Linked DNA regions of Homo sapiens: all the other regions are linked to region 1. The links are contacts of gene promoters, found by promoter capture Hi-C in blood cells and fetal thymus (Javierre and others, 2016). All regions are on one chromosome and are shown on one strand. The core of a region is centred on a gene start or on the middle of the fragment in contact, and the rest is flanking DNA. Distances in the headings are between cores, read along the strand shown.

The links. Contacts are between HindIII fragments. The CHiCAGO score rates a contact against its expected background, and 5 or more counts as called.
Region 2: a fragment that was not itself captured here is called in contact with the fragment with the promoter of LINC02902 in region 1 in 4 of 17 cell types (total B cells, naive B cells, M0 macrophages and 1 more); the score reaches 12.9 in total B cells.
Region 3: a fragment that was not itself captured here is called in contact with the fragment with the promoter of LINC02902 in region 1 in 1 of 17 cell types (total B cells); the score reaches 6.0 in total B cells.
Region 4: a contact is called between a fragment that was not itself captured here and the fragment with the promoter of LINC02902 in region 1, in 6 of 17 cell types (total B cells, naive B cells, M0 macrophages and 3 more). The highest score is 15.2, in total B cells.
Region 5: a contact is called between a fragment that was not itself captured here and the fragment with the promoter of LINC02902 in region 1, in 4 of 17 cell types (naive B cells, total B cells, M1 macrophages and 1 more). The highest score is 11.8, in naive B cells.
Region 6: a fragment that was not itself captured here is called in contact with the fragment with the promoter of LINC02902 in region 1 in 8 of 17 cell types (total B cells, naive B cells, M1 macrophages and 5 more); the score reaches 30.7 in total B cells.
Region 7: a fragment that was not itself captured here is called in contact with the fragment with the promoter of LINC02902 in region 1 in 8 of 17 cell types (total B cells, naive B cells, M1 macrophages and 5 more); the score reaches 34.9 in total B cells.

Annotation. Positions count from the first base shown.
Region 1 is chr7:47,653,617-47,656,706 of GRCh38, reverse strand. LINC02902 (long intergenic non-protein coding RNA 2902) reads right to left here and starts at 1,463. Exons shown (of 3, transcript NR_171030.1): 1 at 1,359-1,463. The HindIII fragment of the contact is 4,908 bases long and covers 1-3,090 here.
Region 2 is chr7:47,400,722-47,403,811 of GRCh38, reverse strand. TNS3 (tensin 3) reads left to right here. Exons shown (of 31, transcript NM_022748.12): 14 at 2,898-3,027. Among named protein-coding and RNA genes, the nearest start is that of SNORD151, 63 kb to the left of the region's middle. RefSeq lists enhancers at 174-682, 2,429-3,090. The HindIII fragment of the contact is 2,038 bases long and covers 410-2,447 here.
Region 3 is chr7:47,894,211-47,897,300 of GRCh38, reverse strand. All of the region lies in intron 14 of PKD1L1 (polycystin 1 like 1, transient receptor potential channel interacting), which reads left to right. Among named protein-coding and RNA genes, the nearest start is that of PKD1L1, 53 kb to the left of the region's middle. RefSeq lists enhancers at 1-78, 79-600. The HindIII fragment of the contact is 2,832 bases long and covers 195-3,026 here.
Region 4 is chr7:47,428,420-47,431,509 of GRCh38, reverse strand. All of the region lies in intron 8 of TNS3 (tensin 3), which reads left to right. Among named protein-coding and RNA genes, the nearest start is that of SNORD151, 35 kb to the left of the region's middle. The HindIII fragment of the contact is 8,256 bases long and covers 1-3,090 here.
Region 5 is chr7:47,836,053-47,839,142 of GRCh38, reverse strand. PKD1L1 (polycystin 1 like 1, transient receptor potential channel interacting) reads left to right here. Exons shown (of 57, transcript NM_138295.5): 37 at 2,049-2,222. Among named protein-coding and RNA genes, the nearest start is that of PKD1L1-AS1, 42 kb to the right of the region's middle. The HindIII fragment of the contact is 9,294 bases long and covers 1-3,090 here.
Region 6 is chr7:47,481,886-47,484,975 of GRCh38, reverse strand. The region is part of intron 3 of TNS3 (tensin 3); the gene reads left to right. Among named protein-coding and RNA genes, the nearest start is that of SNORD151, 19 kb to the right of the region's middle. RefSeq lists an enhancer at 2,438-2,985. The HindIII fragment of the contact is 5,942 bases long and covers 1-3,090 here.
Region 7 is chr7:47,813,877-47,816,966 of GRCh38, reverse strand. It overlaps PKD1L1 (polycystin 1 like 1, transient receptor potential channel interacting), which reads left to right. Exons shown (of 57, transcript NM_138295.5): 47 at 1,510-1,633; 48 at 2,953-3,036. The region is part of intron 2 of PKD1L1-AS1 (PKD1L1 antisense RNA 1); the gene reads right to left. Among named protein-coding and RNA genes, the nearest start is that of PKD1L1-AS1, 20 kb to the right of the region's middle. The HindIII fragment of the contact is 986 bases long and covers 1,050-2,035 here.

The DNA.
Region 1 (3,090 bases), core at 214-2,713:
ACACAACAGAAATTTATTTCTTGCAGTTCTAGTGGCTGAAAGTCCAAGATTAAGGTGCCAGGACATTCGCTGTCTGGGGAGGGCCCACTTTCTCGTTCATTGATGATGCCATCTCCCTGTGTCTTCACATGACAGAAGGGGTGAGTGAGCTCTAAGAGCACTTATCCCATCACGCAAGTCGAGCACTGAGAAGCTATGCAGTCCCTGAAGGCCCACTCCTGGACAGAAATCTCCGTGTTTCTCTTTGTTCTGGTCTTGACTGAATCTAAACAAGTGAAAGGCAGTTCTTGAGCCTGTGTAACCCCCTAACCTGGCCCAAGTTCCAAACACACCTGGATCTTCGCCTTTTTCATCTGTTAATTGTGGCCAATAAAAATACCTTCCTTGGCCGGACGCGGTGGCTCACGCCTGTAATCCCGGCACTTTGGGAGGCCGAGGCGGGCGGATCATGAGGTCAGGAGATCGAGACCATCCTGGCTAACACGATGAAACCCCATCTCTACTAAAAATACAAAAAATTAGCCGGGCGTGGTGGTGGGCACCTGTAGTCCCAGCTACTCGGGAGGCTGAGGCAGGAGAATGGTGTGAACCCGGGAGGCGGAGGTTGCAGTGAGCCGAGATCGCGCCGCTGCACTCCAGCCTGGGCTACAGAGCGAGACTCCGTCTCAAAAGAAAAAAAAAAACTTCCTCCCAGGTTTTAGTCGTTTTTTCCCCGGCACCCCTGCTTGCCACGTGGTAAATGTTCAATACAACTAATATCAATAATGACTCAAGTTTATTGATTACCACCTCTCTCTTTCCTCCATGGAGTGCTTACTGGGAGGATGGAGTCTCTTGGGGTGCGTGGCTTTCCCATACATCAGCATCAGCCATCGCGAGACCCCACGGGCCAGCAGTGTGGACGGGGAGACAAGTGAGGCCTCCCAGCCAGAACAGCTCAGCCTGCCAGGAGAAGCAGAAACCCCCCAAAGTAATCACTTCTCGAGTGCCTTCGAGACCCCAGATGTTGGGAAAACAACTATTTTCCCTTGTGTAAGACATGGCCAGTTTCTTTCCATCTCCTAAACAAATCAAATACAACCCTGAGCCCTCCTCCTTCCAGCCTGGCAGAAAATCCAGCCTTGACATTCTGTGGACTCTCTCTGCCCCACAGGGAGTTACCAAAGCCCTGGGAGCTTTTTCAAATTTTGATGGATAGCAAACATTTTAAAAAAAGACAAAAAATCAAATTATCATGAAGTGGACACGCCCATGTAACCACTTCCCAGGTCCAGAAAGAACAACAGTCATCCAGGACCACCCCCACATCCCTCCCAGCATCCACACCTCCCAGGCCCCACAAAGACCACTGTCCTGACCGCTGCCTCCCTCCCTGGGGCCCGGCCAGAGCCGTCTTCCTTCTGTTGACTCTGTTGGTGCCATCCTCATCCCACTGCCCGGGTGACTCGTCTGCCAAATGCAAGAATCGAATGGGGAGAGGAGTCTAGCGTACCCCCTGAACCCTGAGCCCCAAAGCAGGAGTTTTAGCCACATAGCTTTGGGTTTTCCCAGGATCCCTCGGGTGCCTGGGGCGCAGGATGCCAGGGTATAGGAGCTCTGCTCTCATGACGGGTGAATCCCCTGGTTCTCCTGTAAGTGCAGAGATGCTAGGGTAGTTCCCACACTCAAATATTCCCCGAGCCAGGGCTGGGCGCCTGTGGGAATCCCAGCAATCCTACAGTTTCACTGAAGTCCTATAATTTCCCGTACCCTGCCTCTATTTCAGGGACCTGCTGCTCAGAATGTGGAAATGCAGATGTGGTTTGCTTGTGTTGCCATTGTTCTCGTGAGCTGTAAGGCAGTGATTACAGGCTCCGTGGGCGGCAGGGAGCAGCCAACTGGATTGACGGCACATTCTTAGCTTATTTTAAAATCAGTAACAGCATTAATAAAAATCCTGTGCCTTCCCATTTACTTTTTCTTCCAAAAGAAAAAATACTGTACTTCCTAGCAGTCTGTGGCTGGAGTGGGAAGAAAGGAGAAATCATTTGAAAGTGTGAGGAATATCAGAGGAAATTTTAGAAAGGACCCTAGGCCATCTCTAGCTTTCTCATAGCAGTGACCCTGTTCCTCCCCCCAGATTGGGACACTTTAATTTTTTTTTTTTTTTTCAAGACAAAGGAGTCTCGCTCTGTTGCCCAGGCTGGAGTACAGTGGTGTGATCTCGGCTCATTGCAACCTCCACCTCCCAGGTTCAAGCAATTCTTGTGTCTCAGCCTCCTGAGTAGCTGGGATTACAGGTGTGTGCCAGGACACCCAGCTAAGTTTTTGGTATTTTTAGTAGAGAAAGGGTTTCACTGTGTTGGCCAGCCTGGTCTCGAACCTGTAACTTCAAGTGGTCAGCCCACCTCGGCCTACCAAAGTGCTGGGATTACATGCGTGAGCCACCGGCCCGGATGATTCACTTCTTAATAAATCATCCAACCCAATGATTTGGTTCCAAAAGAAACAGATAACATTCAAACACTGTTTCCTCTAGTTCATACTGTAAGACAATGTATTTTAGATACATTTTGCTTGAAATCCACAAACTTGTCAAATACCCACCTGGGTAGAGGAGGACAGCAGAACTGAAGGGCAAGAGGGCTCAGCCAGACTTCCCTCCCCGAGCTCCCGGGAGAAGGTTAATCACTTCGATCTAAACCAGGCAGGGCAGAGACCTAGGAGGCAGGAAGTCAGTTTAAAGGATGTGACATTGGCATTTGCCCAGCGGGTGATGGGAGAGGGAGGTTGAGGTCGTAACACTTCATTTTCATTCTGCATCTTACAAAGACTCCGACCTCTGAGCTAAACTGACTTGGGCCAGCTCCCACCTAGTGAACCTCAGCTCCTCCTCCTCAAGTGAGGCTGTCACCTTGCAGGTAAGCAGAGAGTTTGTGAGTCTAAAAGGAGAGAAACTCTAGGAGAGGAAAGGCTCTGTAGCCATGGGCCTGGAGGAGCCTGAGGCTCTATTTGTGGAATGAGTGTGTTAGAGGAACTGGGGGTCTGGACCAGATAAGAAAGTCCCCAGCTTTAGGCAGTACATGTGTCCAGTAGAGGCAGCAGACAGAC
Region 2 (3,090 bases), core at 179-2,678, 250 kb after region 1:
ATAATGCATAATTATTGCACACTATGGAGGGCTCCTGGTTGGTGAGTGGATTTTGTCTCAAGATCTGACCTGCTGTGTTGATGGTGGTTGCTGGGAGCCCCGAGTTAGGGAAAATCCTGTGGTTTTCCGTGTCTTTCAGAAGAAGCTGGAGTCAGTTCATGATTTGGTCAGGAGGACTGGGGAGGGTGGTGTTTACCTCCATTAATCAAGAGGAAAGAGGTTTAATATGAAACAGGGATTGTGTATGATGAGGCCGTTAGGATCTCAAGCCAGCAAACAAAGTTAGCATTAAAATACACAGAGAAACCCCTGAAGGGAGGGCCACGTGATTTCAGGCAGCAGTTGTTCTCTGCCAGTGGGATAGACCGCTCTTTCTTTCACTGTGGAGCCTTAGGAGTATTTGAAAGCTTGTGCTGTGAAAAATAGGAATCTTACAGGAGAATCATATGGGGCCTGGAGAGGAACCTGTTTGGGACAGGCCGATTCCCATCTCCTGCCACTCTGTACCTCCTGGGCACCGTGGCCTGCCTTCTCCTCCCTTCTGGTATGTGGAGGGAGCTGGGATTGCTGCGGGAGGAGCAGTGTGTTTGTGTGTAGCTGCTATGAGGAGCAGTGGGGGGACCTGGGGGAGCATCCTGGATTCCTGAAGAGGGAGGGCAGGACCTGGCCTGGAAGGAGGCCCTGCGCTGGGCGGGGCGGTACTGACGGGAGGGGCACGGTGAGCTGCGGTTGGGGATATTCCACTGTGCCCCTTATGTGGCCCGTACTGGAGCCCACAGCTCCCTCTGTTTTCACCCAGGACACTCCCTGCCTGCCAGGACTGAGCCCACAGCTGCCTCCTGAGGAGTTTCCTGACTCCTGTGGGCAAATGTTGGCGCCCATGGCAGCACAGGCTGCGTGAGCTATCAGCTGACATCGTGTTGTTGTTTTTATTTTTTTAAATCTCTGGTTCCCTTAAATATTTATAAAATTTGAGAGCAAGACTGGCTTGAATTGGGGCATCTCTTTTCCTTTTCCCTTCCCTAACCACTTTTCACTCCCCATTTGCAAGGCACTAGTGGAGGCAGACAGGCACATTTGAAGGCAGACAGGGAAAGGTGGGTGCTATCATCTCTATCAATGGGGGTGCATGTGTGGATTTACCCTTGGCCAGAAGGACCTCCCTCTGGGGATCTCTACAATATGCCCCAGGTTGAAGCATTTGATGGGTGGTCAGTGTAGTGAGTGTGGGGCATGGGGAGCTCAAAGGAGGGGCCCAGATACTCTCAGAACATCCTGGAAGGATCCCTGCAAGGGCAGCCTTTGATTGAGTCTTGCTGAGAAGTCAGTCTCGGACAGAGGTGGTAGATTTGTGGCCAACGTGCCATTGGCTGTTGGAAAGCAAATTGAGGCAACATTTCTTCACAATGCCAGTTTTCTACTTGCAAACGCCCTGGTTCCTGGGCCCCTGGAGGCCAGGCCTGAGTCTGAGCCCCATGTTTACAGCACCGCTGGCCAGCGCCAGGCCGTACAAGGGAGACCCAGTCATGTTTGTCAACAGGGAACATCCTTCCACAGTCTTAATTATATTTTTTTGGTTTATTTACCCGTCCCTTTCCTTGTAGATAGCACAAAGGTAAACATCTTCTGGGTCTGCCTGGAGTCACAGCTCCCTGCCTCCTGGGCTGGGTTTCTGGGCTTTTTGTTCCTCTGGTGGATGTTCATCTGGTTAGGGAAGACCCTCCCTGCAGAATTCTCCCGCATGCTGGTCCGGATCATACCTGCTGCGGTGGCTTCTCATTTACTGTTGTGAGGCATGTGATATTTTAAAGCCATCTTTCTCCAAGAAAAGTCTCTTTTATGGGAACGTGGCTGTCTCTGGTAGTCACTACCCCACAGCCTCGGGGTTGGGGAGGTACCTGCCTGTGCACGATTTGGTCTGAGAGCAGAATCCAGCCTGTCCAGGGCCTTCGGCCTTCTGGGGATTTGGGAAAGTGCCACTACCTGGTGGTCCTGCCCCTGATCTCTGAGTGAGGGGTATCCCTGTCCCTGCAGCTCCCCCAGCTGTGGCCTGAGAACCCTTCCAATGATGCCAGTGCTGCGCACGGTCACAAGAAGCAGGGGGGACCTAGTTATACAGGCAGGTCAGGACACTCAGGCTCCTGCTCTGCCCACCGTTCCCCACATGCCAAGCATCTGCAAGGAGGGGCTTGCTCTACCCTTTGGCTCATTGGCACAATCATTTAGGGTGCTTGAGCTGCACCCTGGGGACCTCATGAACCCCAGCTTGAGTTCAGATCACATCAGGGTGATTCTGAACACTTGTCTAAATGCCAACACCCTCTCTGTCTCCCTCTCTCCCTTCCTCCTTCTTTGTATCTCTGTCTCTAAATTACAGCATGCACATAATCATTTAGGATAGTACACACAGTAATGACCGGCTGCTGCTTTTTGGAAAACAAAAAGCTTTAAGTTGCAACATGGAGCATTGAGATCAAAGAAAAGCTATCACAATCAGTTGTTAAAGTCTAGAAAAAAGAGACCATGGAATTCTATTTTTCGGATGTGTTCCAAAACAGGGCACATTCACGTGGTCTGAAAGGGTTTAGGTGTGGCCTCTCTGAGGACTAGCGATAGTGGTGTTCAGAGCTGCGGTTCCACAGGAGCAGCACAGGGAACACATTGAAGCCTCCAGTGGAGCCCCGCACCCAGCAGCAGCAGTGTGGTGCCTCTGCCTGCACCCCAGCTGTCTGCAGGCGCCTGTGCCCCAGGGCTGAAGTTCCACTCCAAAGCGTGAACTCCCAGCCAGAGTCCAGAGGGGAGGCCCTGCTGTGCCGGCCTCCGCGGAGTGTGTTCCTTGCCGGGAACGTGTGTCCCCCGCTGCAGCTACTTTGTTTTGTTTTGTCTCTCTAACCCAGGTGAAATGCTACCACAAGAAATACCGCTCGGCCACCCGTGACGTCATTTTCCGCCTGCAGTTTCACACTGGGGCTGTGCAGGGCTACGGGCTGGTGTTTGGGAAGGAGGATCTGGACAATGCCAGCAAAGGTGAGGCGCGGAGCTGGCGGCCCTGTGCTTGTGGGCAGCTGCGGTTGAACCTCCTTGGTTGAT
Region 3 (3,090 bases), core at 361-2,860, 240 kb before region 1:
GCAGCGAAGGAGCTTTGTTCTTTTAAGCTGTGGGGCACGCAGTCCTATTGAGCACAGTTCCATCTGGTGCCTTGTGTGGCTTGCCACAAAGCTCCTCGGCACCCAAACTGCCCTGACCTTGCCTGAGGAAGCAAATCCTCCCAATCTGTGCTGGGATGTCACAGCGATGGCAAATGCTGGAGTTGCCAGAAGCTTCCTCTCAGTGTCTGTACTTATCTCATCGCGAAATAGGCAGGTAACGATGGGCCAAGTGACAACAGGCTGCAGACCAGGCTTAGCATAGCATTACTTCAGATGCAGGTTGTAGGAAAAAGCAGAGCTTTCCCAGCAGGCTGTATACTCTTCTTTAGAAATGTTGATTGGGAACGAGTAGGAAACAGACTGAAGGATGGGATGTTGGGAGAGTGTTAGTGAAGGTGAGAAGTCATTAGAGGCTGAAGCAGGGGGCAGCTGGGGAATAGAGAGCAGAGCAGGGTCAATGTCAGGGGACCTCGGGGTGGTGGGGAGCATCTGACCTGATGGGTGGCTAATTGTAAGAAGCCAAGGGGAAATGCAAAGGAAAATCTGTAATACTGAACGAGTGGAGGAGGGTGAGGCTGCTCTTCATTTTCCTAATGAAAACAGCACTATTTGTACCTGGCTGTGTGCTGGGGGGAGGGATTTGGAGATAAATAAGGTCTTTGCACACTTGTGTGAACAACCTAGTAGGGGAGGTAGATAGAGCCTGTAAACTAAAAATAAAATCCTAAGTCCCCCCCAAACAACTAAACAAATCCCCTCTTGGCCAAGGGGACCCAGAAAATACTTAAAAAATGGAGTTCCTGGCCATAATGGGACTCAAGGTCAGATATGCCTCATTACGCCCCCTCCCTTTCACAGTTTAGACACAACAACTGACCAACATTAATGTTAAAATAGTGATTATAAGACTGACAGAACGGACTCCTTTTTTTTTTTTTTTTTTTTTTTTTGAGACAGGGTCTCACTCTGTTGCCCAGGCTGGAGTGCAGTGGCTGCAATCTCGGCTCACTGCAACCTCTCCCTCCTGGGCTCAAGTGATCCTTCTGCCTCAGCCTCCTGAGTAGCTGGGACTACATGTGCATACCACCATGCCTGGCTAATTTTTTGTAGAGACAGGGTTTCACCCTGTTGCACAGGCTGCTCTCGAACTCCTGGGCTCAAGCAATTTGCCTGCCTCAGCCTCCCAAAGTGCTGGGATTATAGGCGTGAGCCATCACGCCTGGCCAGGACATACTCTTTATGACAATAAGATACCAAATTATAAACAAGACCTAAGGCCAGGCAAGAGTGAAATCACACAGTCCTACAATTAAAAAATAAGCTGTTCTCATTGCCACAGGATTTTTCTCCCCTTTTCTCTATCAACTAAACAAACACTAGCCTTAAAATAAACAGTATTAAAACAATTACAACTCTACAACCACCAAACATCAACTAATTAACCCCCCATTCCTCAAGCCTTAACTATGACTTTAATTAAACAAAAAACTAATTTCTATAAATTTTTCCTAATAAAAAACACCAACCGTAAACTAATTCTGCCCAGTTTGACTACGCATTTAAGTGCCTTCATGTCCCTACTTTACCTTTTAACATAAAAGACCTAATTATAATACATTGCAATATTGTCTCCACCCAAAAGTAAACATAAAGCACATATATATGTTTACTTATTACACAAAAACACAATCCTCTTCCATAGATATCCATAACTCCTATATCCTGTGAATATGTGATAATGCATTCAACTGAAATTCCTCTTACCCCTCCCTCCCTCCTCCAAATACTTACTTTCAATTTCTTAGCCAGAGACTACACTTCCTGCTTACAGATTATAATCCCTTTCTTAAAAAATAAAACTCTGCTTTCTAAATATATAAACTACGTAATTTTTAAATTAAACCCAGCAAGCCATAGAAGATGTGTCCAGCCTATGGGACAGGCCAGGTAATGGGAGCTCCGAAGGAGGTTTGGCTATGAGCTGGGAGCCACTTCTGTAGTCTTCAGTGTCTTCACAGGGGGTCTGTGTCTTTCTCTAGGTCTTGGAGACCTTCTGACAGATAAGGTAACTTCTGCTGTCTCTGACCTCACAGTCAGAGCCTCAGGTTTCCTTTGCTCCTGAACAGCCCTGCATCTTCCCCAAGCAGCTTCCTGCTTGGTGCCTCCTCCAGCCTTTGTATATACTTGGAATATTCTCAGCAGCTCCTTGGAGCTGGAGAGGCTGAGCAAACAGAGGTTGAAGGTGGAAATGAGAGTTCTAATCCTACAGCTGTTCCGTTGTCTTTGGTCCTACTCAGGAGACTGATCAGCAGGGAACTGTGTGCATCTGAAGAAAATCTAGAGTGATCAAGGCTGAGACCCAGTGAAAGAATAGCAAGTATTAGACTGTATTTTTTCAAATTGCGTCAGTTTTTTTTTTTTTTTGACAGGGTCTCACTCTGTTGCCCAGGCTGGAGTGTAGTGGTGTGATCTCAGCTCACTGCAACCTCCCCCTCTGGGCTACTGGGTTCAAGCGATTCTTGTGCCTCTGCCTCCCATGTAGCTGGGATTACAGGCACATGCCACCACGCTCAGCTAATTTTTGTATTTTTAGTAGAGATGAGGTTTCACCGTGTTGCCCAGGCTGGTCTCAAACTCCTGAGTGCAAGCAGTCCACCCACCTCAGCCTCCCAAAGTGCTGGGATTACAGGCATGAACCACCGCGCCTGGCCGCATCAAACTTGTAAAAGAACAATATGAATGTTTTATTTATAACATGTTCTGCTATTCCTGGGTTTAAAAGTATTTGTCTTAAATTTCATTTACATTTCCTAAAGTCCATGATATGTTTGGGGGTTAGAAAGAAGCAGCTCTAAGATAGGTGAAGGAAGTTGCACAAAAGCCAGGAGCCTGAACAATTCACTGTGGAGGGAGGAGGTTTGAAAACTATAAAATGTGCACACATGGAAAGTCTCTATTGTGTTCACAAGCTAGGAAATGCCCAAATTTGTACATTAACACAAGCTTGGATAGGAAGATGTCCATGGTCTCGTGGACTCCAGTCACAGCTCTCATGTCGTACAGTAGAGT
Region 4 (3,090 bases), core at 151-2,650, 230 kb after region 1:
GTGATTCTCCTGCCTCAGCCTCCCTAGTAGCTGGGATTACAGGCACGTGCCACCACACCCAGCTAATTTTTGTATTTTTAATAGAGATGGGGTTTCACCATGTTGGCCAGGAAGGTCTTGATCTCCTGACCTCGTGATCCACCCACCTCGGCCTCCCAAAGCGCTGGGATTACAGGCATGAGCCACCGCGCCCTGCCTGACATTAGGTTTTTTTATTTGAGAGTTTTTTGTCTTTTAACATAGGCATTTATTGCCATAAACCTTCCTCTTACAACTGCTTTTGCTGCATCCCATAAGTTTTGGTGTGTTGTGTTTCAATTTTTGTTTCTCCCAAGATATTTCTAAATCTCTCTTCTGACTTTTTTTCTTTGACCCAGTAGTTATTTAGGAGTATGTTGTTTTATTTCCATAAACTTGTGAATTTTCCAAGATTCTTCCTGTTATTGATTTCTAGTTTCATACCACTATGGTCAGAAATGATACTTGAGGCCAGGCGCGGTGGCTCATGCCTGTGATCCCAGCACTTTGGGAGGCCAAGGCGGGCAGATCACCTGAGGTCAGGAGTTCGAGACCAGCCTGGCCAACATGGCAAAACTCCGTCTCTACTAAAAATACAAAAAAATTAGCTGGGTGTGGTGGCATGCACCTGTATTCCCAGCTACTCGGGAGGCTGAGGCACGAGAATCGCTTGAACCCAGGCGGTGGAGGTTGTAGTGAGCTGAGATCATGCCACTGCACTCTAACCTGGATGACAGAGGGAGACTCCATTAAAAAAAAAAAAAGAAAAAATACTGAATATGATTTCAGTCTCCTTAAATTCGTTAAGGTTTGTTTTGTGGCCTAACATGCCATCTATGCTGGAGAACTTTCTGTGTGCACTTCAGAAGAATGCGTATTCTGATGCAATGTTCTGTATATGTCTGTAAGGTCTATTTGGTCTAAAGTGCAGGTTGAGTACCCTGTTTTCTTACTGGTTTTCTGTCTAGGTGATCTGTCCATTGTTGAAAATGGGGTACTGAAGTCCCGTACGGTTGTGGTATTTCTATCTGTCCCTTCAGATCTTTTAATATTTGCTTTATAGGCCGGGTGCAGTGGCTCATGCCTGTAATCCCAGCACTTTGGGAGGCCGAGGCGGGGGGATCACCTGACATCGGGAGTTCGAGATCAGCCTGACTAACATGGAGCAAGCCCGTCTCTATTAAAAATACAAAAAATTAGCCGGGCATGGTGATGCATGCCTGTAATTCCAGCTACTTGGGAGGCTGAGGCAGGATAATCGCTTGAACTCGGGAGGTGGAGGTTGCCGTGAGCCAAGATCGTTCCATTGCACTCCAGCCTGGGCAACAAGAGCGAAACTCTGTCTCAAAAAAAAAAAAAAGAAAAGAAAAGAAAAGAAAAGAAATACTTGCTTTATACATCCATAAATAGTGCCACAAAAGTGATTGATAATGGGGTGAATGTCACCACCATGTGTGCCTGTTTTGGCTGAGGTGTTGTTTCTTTGTAGGTGAATTGCTGTCAAATATAGTTTTATGCAAGAGGTATACTAGTAGCCATACCATTAATAATTGCACGTGCCAGGATTCAGCTGCAAAGAGTGTATCAAGTGCCCGCATTGAGTATCTATAAGGCATGCTCTTGACTTTCACTGACAGAGAGAAGGATGCTCCTGGGTGACTTTCATGTATGACTGGGCTTATCAGAATTGTGACTTGAATTTGATCAGTAGTTTCTTCTCAAGAAGTTAGGGAGCTACATATTAGAGGCCCTGCCTTTTTGGCTTTATATGATTCCAGATCAGGGGTTGGCAAATATTTTTAAAAACAGCCAGATTAGGCCGGGTGCGGTGGCTCACGCCTGTAGTCCCATAGTCCCAGCACTTTGGGAGGCCGAGGCTGGTGGATCACAAGGTCAGGAGATCGAGACCATCCTGGCTAACATGGTGAAACCCCATCTCTACTAAAAATACAAAAAATTAGCTGGGTATGGTGGCGGGCGCCTGTAGTCCCAGCTACTTGGGAGGCTGAGGCAGGAGAATGGCGTGAACCCGGGAGGCGGAGCTTACAGTGAGCCGAGATTGTGCCACTGCACTCCAGCCTGGGGGACAGAGCGTGAGACTCCGTCTCCAAAAAAAAAAGAGCCAGATTGTATTTTACACTTTTCAGTCCCCGTGGTCTTGCTGCAAATACTCAAACCTACCCCTGCAGTGAGAGTGAAAGCAGCCCTGGATGTAGGTAAACAGATGGGAGTGGCCATGTTCTAGTCAAACTTTGTGTTTGGACACTGAAATCTGAACTTCAACACATTTTCACATGGCATGGAATCTTATCTTTTCAAAATTTTTTCTTAATAGTTAGAAAATGTAAAACTAACTCTTAGCTCACAAGTTGTGGGAAAGTAGGTAATGGGCAGAAGTAGCTCCTGGGCTGTGGTTTGCAATCTGCTGTTGTAGGTTGTAAGAGTATGTTCTAGAAGGTGGCACTCTGTGGCCCTGGGTGAAGGTGGCCTGTCCAATAGTTTCTGCTTCTCCTGCTGGTGTTGCTGGTCTGTGGGCTGGGCTGTTGGTGTCTGTGGTTATGGTTTGAGTGAGTCCTTTTCCAGAACTTCTGCCTGGGACAGTGGTTCCTTTATGTGTAATGAGGGTGGGCTGCGGCGGTGTATGTGGAGCTCAGGTGCCGGCAGTGCTGCCAGTAAGCTGGAATCTATGTCCCATCATGCTGAGCTGTGTTTGCAGCCCTGATCATTGTCAGCCCGTGAGCAGGCAGGCGTTCACTTCTGTCTGACCTGGATAATTAAGTCATGCTAATTGCTGCAGCTCCTGGCACAGTTTTTTCCAGCCTAATTGGGTAAAATGACAGGCAGCTGCTGTGTTGGTCAGCCCTCCTGGGCTTCTACAGCTGCTCCAGTTAGCACCCACTCTTACTGTTTGCACCCAGCGTGCGGGTTCCCTGTTGCAGAGACTCCAGTTGCACTGGGTACTGACTTTCCCAGACAGGAAGGCTGTGGGTAATGCTGGCCTTACCACCAAAGCAGGCTCTCTATTGTTTTGTCCACTAGTGAGTCTTTTCCTGTTCTAATTACATCTCTGCT
Region 5 (3,090 bases), core at 436-2,935, 180 kb before region 1:
GACTTTTCAGTGCCCTATGTGTGTCCCAAACAACCTAGATAACTATCAATAGAGTAATTACAGATGTGGTATAGATGTGGTCAGGTCCAGGATGGCAGGAGATAGCCAGAGTGACAGAATAACAGATAACCTCACAAACTAACCATGGAAGTCGTGATTTTTGCATGTCCTTTCCGTCTTTCCCTATATACAAACACATTTCATACAATTGTGATGATAATGTCATGCATTTTGCACTTTCTTTCTTTTTTTTTTTTTTTTTTTTTGAGATGGAGTCTCACTCTACTGCCAGGCTGGAGTGCAGTGGCACGATCTCGACTCACTGCAACCTCTGCCTCCCGGGTTCAAGTGATTCTCCTGCCTCAGCCTCCCGAGTAGCTGGGACTACAGGCACACGCCACCATGCCCGGCTAATTTTTGTATTTTTAGTAGAGATGGGGTTTCACCATGTTGGCCAGATTGGTCTTGATCTCTTGATCTTGTGATCCTCCTGCCTCGGACTCCCAAAGTGCTGGGATTACAGGCATGAGCCAACACACCTAGCTGCATTTTGCACTTTCTTATTCAACATTTTAGAGTAGGTCTCTTCATGAATTTTTAAAACATCATTTCAGGGCTATATAGTGGCCCACTGTGCATGACCATTTGCTGAAGACCTGTTGGGCATTTATAACTTTCTTTCATTTATTATGGTAATGACAACATTGTGGGAACTTTCATGTGTGACTCTGTGTCCCTGATGAGTACTTCCTGAAGCTGGGTCTCAAACAGTGGTAAAAGCCCAGTGAACTCAGACAGTCCCCAGTGTCGCCGGACCTTGCCAGGCCACTGGGCTTTCTTTCCAACCCGCCCTGTTGCCACCTGCGTTGATGAGAGGCCCAGGCTCAAGGCCTTGGCATTTTCAGGCCTGACATATTGCTAAGCTAGTAAGAAACATGATCACAAAGGATTTGAAACAAGTTTTCAATCAGCCACAGCATGTGGAAATTCTTCAACATCTAAAACTGAAGGTCCATTCAACTGGGGCTTCCTCTTAGACGACTGTTTCCATGTGAGAATGACTGTTTGGCTGAGGAACCATAGTTAACAACGGGAGACATACGTTGCTTATCCTCCAGCTGTTGTGCTTGAGAGCTTTTTGTGAGAAATGTAGGCTTATTAATTTAGTCACGTATGAGCACTTGTGTGTGCTGCGAATTGAGCGTTGCTTGTTGGCTAGTTTATTTACATAAAGAAGATATATTCTCATTCTGTTAGTACGATTTTTCTGGCATTCGCTTCTGTGCTCTGCTCATATTCCATAAGAGCAGTTCTGTATATACTTTTGTTTTTTCTAGAACAATATTGAGCCCCACGCATTATTTAAATTGAATTGGAACTTAAAATTTAGTGCAATTCCTAAACAACGTATCTCCCACTGTGTGCCAGACACTGTGGGCTACTGAGGACAGAGGTGGAGGTGACTCAGCCCCACTCTCAGTGTACTCAAAGCCCAGTTGAAATTAACTATGTTGCCAGGGAAAGTTCTGAGAGTGGAGGGGTTTTTGAAAGTCTCTTAGGAATATGAAGGAGAACCAAGGAGAGACTGATCAGAAGCTCTGGAGAGAAGGTCTCCTGAGGCTGGGAGTGAAGGCATTTGAGACCCATGCAGGTGAAGCTCGGAGAAGCATGTGCCAAAGCTCAGGAGGTGCCAGAGGAAGGCCAGGTGAGCCAGAGTCCAGCGTGATAGCAGTGTGGCTGTAGCAAGGGGGCTGCCAAGAAGGCTGAAGGAGGAGCAGCTTCAAGAGGCTTAGAATGAGGTACTGTTCACCTGCACCCACAGCCCACCTAGTACCCAGCTAACCAGCCAGGATAGCAGAGCCAGAGAGTGTGGGGAGTGCAGTGCTGTCTACCTGCACCACAGCCCACCTGGTACACAGCTAAGCAGCTAGGATGGAAGAACCAGAAAGCTCGTGGTCTCTGCTCAGAAGATCACTGCTTAACAGTACTTTGCTTTGCTGACAGAAATGCTCCATGTCAGGGAACACTTCTCCTGCTTTCCGTTTCAGCTTTTCTATTGCAAGTTCACAGAGTACCTGGAGGATTTCCATGTCTGGCTGTCGGTGTACAGCAGGCCCTCCTCCAGCCGCTACCTGCACACGCCGCGCCTCACCGTGTCCTTCTCCCTGCTGTGCGTCTACGCGTGTCTCACTGCCCTGGTTGCTGCTGGAGGGCAAGAGCAGGTGAGAGCCATCGCTTTTCCTTATAGCAGCTTCCAGATCCGACTACACTGTGGCCCCTTTTTGCCTAAGAAATCAACAAAGCTCACAGTTCTCCGAGAAAAGTTTAAACCAGGGGAAGCAAGCCTGGCTGCCTGGGGACCAGAGAAGGAACAGGAGGGCTCTGCCCGGTGTGGCACTGGGTGGCCCTGCACAGCTCTGACTCTGCTGGCTCGGTGGACAGCTGCTGTGTGGGAGCTCGTGCCCAGGCCCAGCAGCAGAACTTTTCCAGAGAGGCTGGCAGCCGGTTGTCTTTGAGAACACTCTTGAATTTTTTTTTAAGTTGGCAATTCATTTAGATTTTAAATAAATCCTCTGGACAAAAGAACGTAGAACCATTCTGATGGCCACATTTTCCCTCAAGATGCCAGTTTGCACTGGCAACTCTGGTCTGATTGTTCCTCATGAGATGTAGTAAATTACTTCCAAATCAGTGTCAGCAGTTAAAATGGAGACCCTCTCTTTCCTGAGGAAAAAACAACACAGCAGGACGTGGACTGAGGCAAAACTGACTTGTTTACTACGACAACATCATGGCCATTCATGCACCCAGCCCACCGGGTTCACCGCTGGGTCGTAGTGTGGCTGCAGAATGTGGTGACAAGGTCCGTTTCCGAGGTGGGGGTCAGCGACCCATCCATGGGACAGCCGGGCATAGTGGCTCCTTTATGACACCAGGTATCAGAGAGATCCAATAACAATTATGGATTGGTGGGATTAAAAAAATAACAGCGCACAGAATTTGTAAAAAGAGGATAAAGAAATATCATCAAGTAGCAGGAAGGGAACAGCTCCGTCCACCTGGAAATAGACCAGGGCCTGTGGTGAGGAA
Region 6 (3,090 bases), core at 255-2,754, 170 kb after region 1:
CTGCTCTCTCTGAATAAGTCAGACTGGCATGTTAAGAACATAAGTGCTAAAGAAGTGTTAGCTTCTTTGTGCCGAGGAAGGCCAAGCCCACCTGGAGTTGGCCCCGACCCACGGTGCTTCCCTCTGTCCAGTGAAAACAGTGAAAGAACCCCACAGTGCTGGGGAATGTGTGATCAGAGCTGGAGTTTGAGGTGAGGAGAGCAAGCAGGTGTGCCTTACTCCCTTACCTGGCTCCATCCACAGGAGATACCCTCCTGATGCATGGGAGGCAGGGCAGCCTGTAGATCAGTGGAGAGCTGTGTGCGCTCCAGCAGGGATGCAGCTCTGTGCACGGAAGCACTGTGCTTCTGCCTCTGCTAAGGCTGAAGAACAGCAAGTGACACTTGACTGTCCAGCAAATGCAGCTGATAGCACCGTCGCACAGTCCCCATAGGTTCCTTGGTGCTGAGCAGGCCGGTATGAGCATCCCCAGCCCGGCCGCCTCATCCTGTGGTTCTGTCTGTGGTCAGCTTACCTGCCTTAGTATAAGGGAGGAAAAGTGTGACGGAAATACAGTCTCTTTTCAGGGACTTCCTGTCCTGGAATCTGGTTTTAGCCACATTGAAAGAACAAGTGCCCTCTGTGTTCACTTGGTCATGGTTTTTGCTAAATGAGATGTTTGTACTTATAGAAATGATGAGTTTTCTCTTTATCAACAGGTGACTCTTTGCTTCTAGAATGTCCCTTTTTCTCTGGTTGGTGCTCCATGTGCATTTTTATTTGCAAATCCACTCCCACAAAAGGTCTTTCCTGAGACATTTTTGTCTGCATTTTGTAACAGCACATGTGCAAACAGACAGTAGGGCCTGTGACTGGTTCTCTTGGAAGAGAGGAGCAAGTTCAGTAGGATGCGAATGTGGAGGCTCAGGGCAAGGCTGCCTGCCATTTGCTCTGCAGAACCTGGGGGCTGCTCGCCCCCTACTGTTCCCCAGCTCACTTTCTTAAAAACGATTCATTTTATGCAGTTTCTATTACGTGAGCCGTAAGCTCTGTGGGGTTAGGGACCAGTCTGCTTCATTTCCAAGTGAAGTCCTGGCAGGAGAAGGCTGTCAGTGAAAATGTGCAGCACAAGTGATGGATGGAGTTCGACAAGATTGGGCGTGCCAACTTATCGCGCGAGCCGGTTAGCCATATAAGCCGTGGATGGTCTGGGGTGAGATGGGACTCGGGCAGTCCCGGCTTACAGAGCTCACCTCTCCTTTTCTGTAGGACACCCTGGGGCCAGGCCAGGTGGTGGGCCGTTATTGCACCCCATCTGGCCACAGAGGGATGTGGGAACACACAGACCTGGCTTCTGGACCAAATCCTTAAGTGGCTGCCGTCTTTAAAACTCAAGTTTCTGACATTGCACAAGGCTTTTCTTTTCATTGTCTCAACAAACGTGTGCTTCCAGAGAGTGAATTTAAAAAATGTATTATAGACTGTATTTTTAAGAGAGTTTTAGATTTATACAAAAATCAGACACTCAGGCCAGGTATGGTGGCTCACGCCTGTAATCCCAGTACTTTGGGAGGCCGAGGTGGGTGGATCATGAGGTCAGGAGATCGAGACTATCCTGGCTCACACAGTGAAACCCCATCTCTACTAAAAATACAAAAAATTAGCCAGGCGTGGTGGCGGGCGCCTGTAGTCCCAGCTACTCGAGAGGCTGAGGCAGGAGAATGGCGTGAACCCGGGAGGCGGAGCTTGCAGTGAGCCAAGATCGTGCCACTGCACTCTAGCCTGGGTGACAGAGTGAGACTCCGTCTCAAAAAAAAAAAAAAAATTGGACACACTCTTCTTCCTCTTCATATATAAACATTTTCCATTCCTGTGGTACATTTGTTACACTTGATTAGCCAATATTGATACAGTCTTAGTAACCAGAGCCCTCGGTTTACATTAGGATTCTCTCCTGGTGTTGTACATTCTGTGGGTTTAGACAAATGCAGAATGACGTGCGTCCATCCTTATAGTGTCAAGCAGAATAGCTTCATGGCCCTAAAGAGTCTCTGTGCTCTGCCTGTTCCTCTCTCCCTCCTAATCCCTGGCTTTCACTGACCTTTTCACTGTCCCATAGTTTTGCCTTTTCCAGAATGTCACAGAGTTGAAATCATACAGTATGTGGCCTTTTCAGAGTGGCTTCTTTCACTTAGTAATATGCATTTAAGTTTCCTCTTTGTGTTTTCCTGCCTTCATAGCTCATTTTTTTTTTCATCATGCTTGACATGCCATTGCAGGAATGCTGATAGTGAGTTTGAAAGGCAGGGGCCCTGATTCTTCGCACATTTCTTGCCTGCATGTCACATGTGGAGTGAGGCAACAAGATGCATGTGTGCACTGAGTAGATACCATGCTTGAGGGGAGATAAGTCACACCGCTCTGTTAACCATGGGGTCTCCTTGTCCGGCTGTTTCCGCCATCCTGTAAGGTTTTGTCTGTGACTCCTTCTGTTTCCAAAGCTGTTTTTGTTTTGTTTTGCTTTACATTTATTTGTTTACTTATTCTCTCATCCATTCATCAAACTTTAAAGGGGCCCTGAGAGAGGACCCCTGCCCCAGACATCCGTCTGAGTCAGAGCCATGGTGGAGTAATGATGTGTCCCAGACACAGGAACGGCCATGTGTCACATACTCCCTGAGGACTGGACTGCGTAAGATAAGCAAGAGGCTATAAATAGTTATCCTGGTAAAAGCCAAGATTACGCCGCCGCCCACTCCAAACCACAAGTACAATTAGTCAGATCTCTGAGATTCTCTACGATTCTCCTTCGGTTGCACATTTTCAGAAAACTCTTTGAGAAGGCAGGTGCCAGGGATCTGGAGGGGGCAGTGCCAGGAGAAAGCTAAGGAGTGAGGTCACTCACCAGGAACTGAATCCTGTTTGCTGGCGCCTGGCTCCTGAGCGGCCCCCCAGAGCAGCGCAATGCCTGCCTGGCTCCCTTAGCCCCTGCCCTGTGCCACTCTTCTGAGCTCCTCACGCGCCATCTCTTAATTCTCACCATGACCCTGCCCGGAAGGCACTATTGTTACCTGCAGTTTTCAGATGTGGAAACTGAGGCCCAGAGAGATT
Region 7 (3,090 bases), core at 293-2,792, 160 kb before region 1:
ACCACGCCCGGAACCACCATGGTCTTTCACACCACCAATGTGACATCACTGAACATGGAGTTGGGAGGAGTTGTGCAAAATTGGCTCTCACAGTAAGAGTCGGCTCCAGGCCTGCTGTCTACAGCCCAACTTTGCTCTCAAGCCTCGTTTACCAAAGCCATGGCCATCATCTGAATGATTCATAGTGTGTTCATTCTTTGGAGTAGTCTGGATCTGGTGCTGGACCAGGCATTCAACTGTGTGTACTTGGGTGACTTTCTAACTTCTTCTCACCTTATGACAAAATTCCTTTTCCTGAGAACTATTTTGGTCTCCCCTTTTTGTGGAGAGAAACCTGGATGAAACAGCCACATCAGAGCCATTTCTGTTTGCTGAGGGCATGTTGATGAGCACCCCATCCTTTCCATTCTTCAGTGACTCTTCATGGGAAGCTATGTATGAGAAAGTTTTTTAGAGTTAGGTGAGAGGTACTTTGCTTTCTCGTAGGAACACTTGATTTTATCCTTTTGCCTCTGGCTGTAGCTCAGAGCCAAATGGACACCCTGCTGCTGCCATGCACAGCCTTGGCCTGTGCATGTGGCTTTATAGCAGTGTCTGAGCAAACTAAAAATGATAAATTTCATTCATTTGATGTTATTTCAGTGCTCCCTTAAATCAGTTCCTTGGTGGAAAAATGAAGCATATCTATAAACATAATGAAGAAGTTAATTGGAAAGAAAACAGACTAGTGTTTGTGCCAACACTGCACTTCATCTATGTCTTCACATCTGCCACTCACAGGCATCTTGGGAGGCCAGTCACATGCTGCGCCCAGTCGGCAGTCAGTGCAGAGAGAGGACTGGGTCTTGGTCTGTGTGTCCCAGAGCCTCCCTTGTTTACCCTAGCCCCGGCGCTCCCTCTGCACCAGCCCTGTGGCCCCGACACCTTCCCACCCTTCAGGCTTGCGGAAGCCCTCGCCGTCCCCTCTGCCTTTAATACCCTCTCTCAGATGACCACGGGCTCCACCCTCACCTTCAGGTCTTTGCTAGACATCACCACCTACTGAAGCTTCCATGGCTGCTTGAACATCTGCTTACCCCACCACTTGCCTGTCTTTCCTGCTTTTTTTTTTTCCTCCTTCATATTTGTCACAACATAGTATATGTTTGCTTATTTGTCTTATTTGTTGCCTGTTTCCCCATAGGAGGGCAGAGAATTGATTTTCTGTTTCCCAGTGCCTAGAAGAGTGCCTGACACCTAGTAGTTGCATAGTAATGTTTGTTGAGTGACTGATGGAGTGAGCAAATGAACAAGTGCTTCACCCGCCATTCTCTCTTATCTCCTGCTACTAAGGAGCAAAGTGAGTTCCAGGGTTTCATGCTTCACGCTGCAAGCAGCTTGAGTTTAATTCCTGCAGAGTACCTGAAATCTGAATGAGAGAAAAATTGGCAAGAAAACATGCTTTTGTTCTCACGTTTCATTGTTCTTGTTGATGCAGAAGCAACTTTTTATTTTTGTTCTTGCATTAAGAAATGCCAGAAACTGCTTGGGTGGCCTGAGAAACATCGCTGACTGGTGGGACTGGAGTCTGACCACACTTCTGGATGGCCTGTACCCGGGAGGCACCCCGTCAGCCCGTGTGCCGGGGGCTCAGGTGAGCTTTCCGTCTCCTCTTCATAGGAGATCATCTCAGAAAAGCTATCTTGCAGTGGGTGAAACAGTCACTAATGCTGAACTGCAGCACTGCATAGGTTCTTGAATGACCATGCAGGTGTAAGGCCGGTGGCTCTCCAGTGGGTCCCAGCAGAGCATCCTGTTCCTTTCCTGCCAGAACCCATTGGCCCCATCCCATTACACCCTGCTGAGCTGCACGGGATTCTCCAGATTCCTGTGCTTCCCAGGCCTGAGATAGACACAAGGGCTATGGCAGAGCCTCAGGAGCCCTCAGGCTGATGGGGTGGGAGGTCAGGAAATGGAAGATTCTAGTTCCGTGTGCAAAATACCCTGACAAGGAAACACAAGAACCACCCCAAAACAGAGGAAGTGCAAGGAAGCTTCCAGAAAGAGGTGAGGTTGATCCCAAGTTCGGAAGAAAAAGTTAATATGCATTTTGCATAATCCCATTCCTTGCTCAGCTTTTATTTTCAACCCCTTTCCCATGTTTAAAAATGAAATATCCTGGGCGCGGTGGCTCACACCTGTAATCCCAGCACTTTGGGAAGCTGAGGCAGGTGGATCACGAGGTCAGGAGTTCGAGACCAGCCTGGCCAACATGGGGAAACCCTGTCTCTACTAAAAATACAAAAGTTAGCTGTGTGTGGTGGCGCGTGCCTATAATCCCAGCTACTTGCAAGGCTGAGGCAGAATTGCTTGAACCTGAGAGGTGGAGGTTGAAGTGAGCCAAGATCATGCCACTGCACTCCAGACTAAAAATACAAAAATTAGCCGCGCGTGGTGGCACATGCCTGTAATCCTAGCTACTTGGGAGGCTGAGGCAGGAGAATTGCTTGAACCCGGTGGGTGGAGATTGCAGTGAGCTCAGGTCACACCACTGCACTCCAGCCTGGGCAACAGAGCTATTCTCTGTCTTTAAATTTAAAAAAGAGAAATATATTTGTCCATATTCCTTGAGCAGTTTATTTATAATTTTATTTTGTTGTATTCTATATAGTCTCTTGGGTTGATGACACTGGAGAAACTTTCAAAAAAGATAAAAGAGAGCATTCTCATGTGACGAAAGTTACGAACACCATTTGAACGTTAACCCTTTTCCAGGACAAGTCTGGGGAGGTTGTTGCTGCCTTCTTAGAATGTTGGTTGTATCCCTAAAATGGTATTGGAAGGAAAATAAAACTCTGACCTCTATGGTAGCAGGTGGAGTTACCCAGAGCCCCACGCCTTTTGAGCACGCTTGATGAGGAGGTTTGAAGTCCACAGCACACCCAGTCCTCATCATCTTTTTTCTCCTTTCAGCCTGGAGCTCTTGGAGGAAAATGCTACCTAATAGGCAGTTCCGTAATTAGGCAGCTAAAAGTTTTTCCTAGGCATTTATGCAAGGTAAGATGTTCCTTTTCCTTTTGCTTCCAAGAATAAATGGAATTAGAGAAGTCT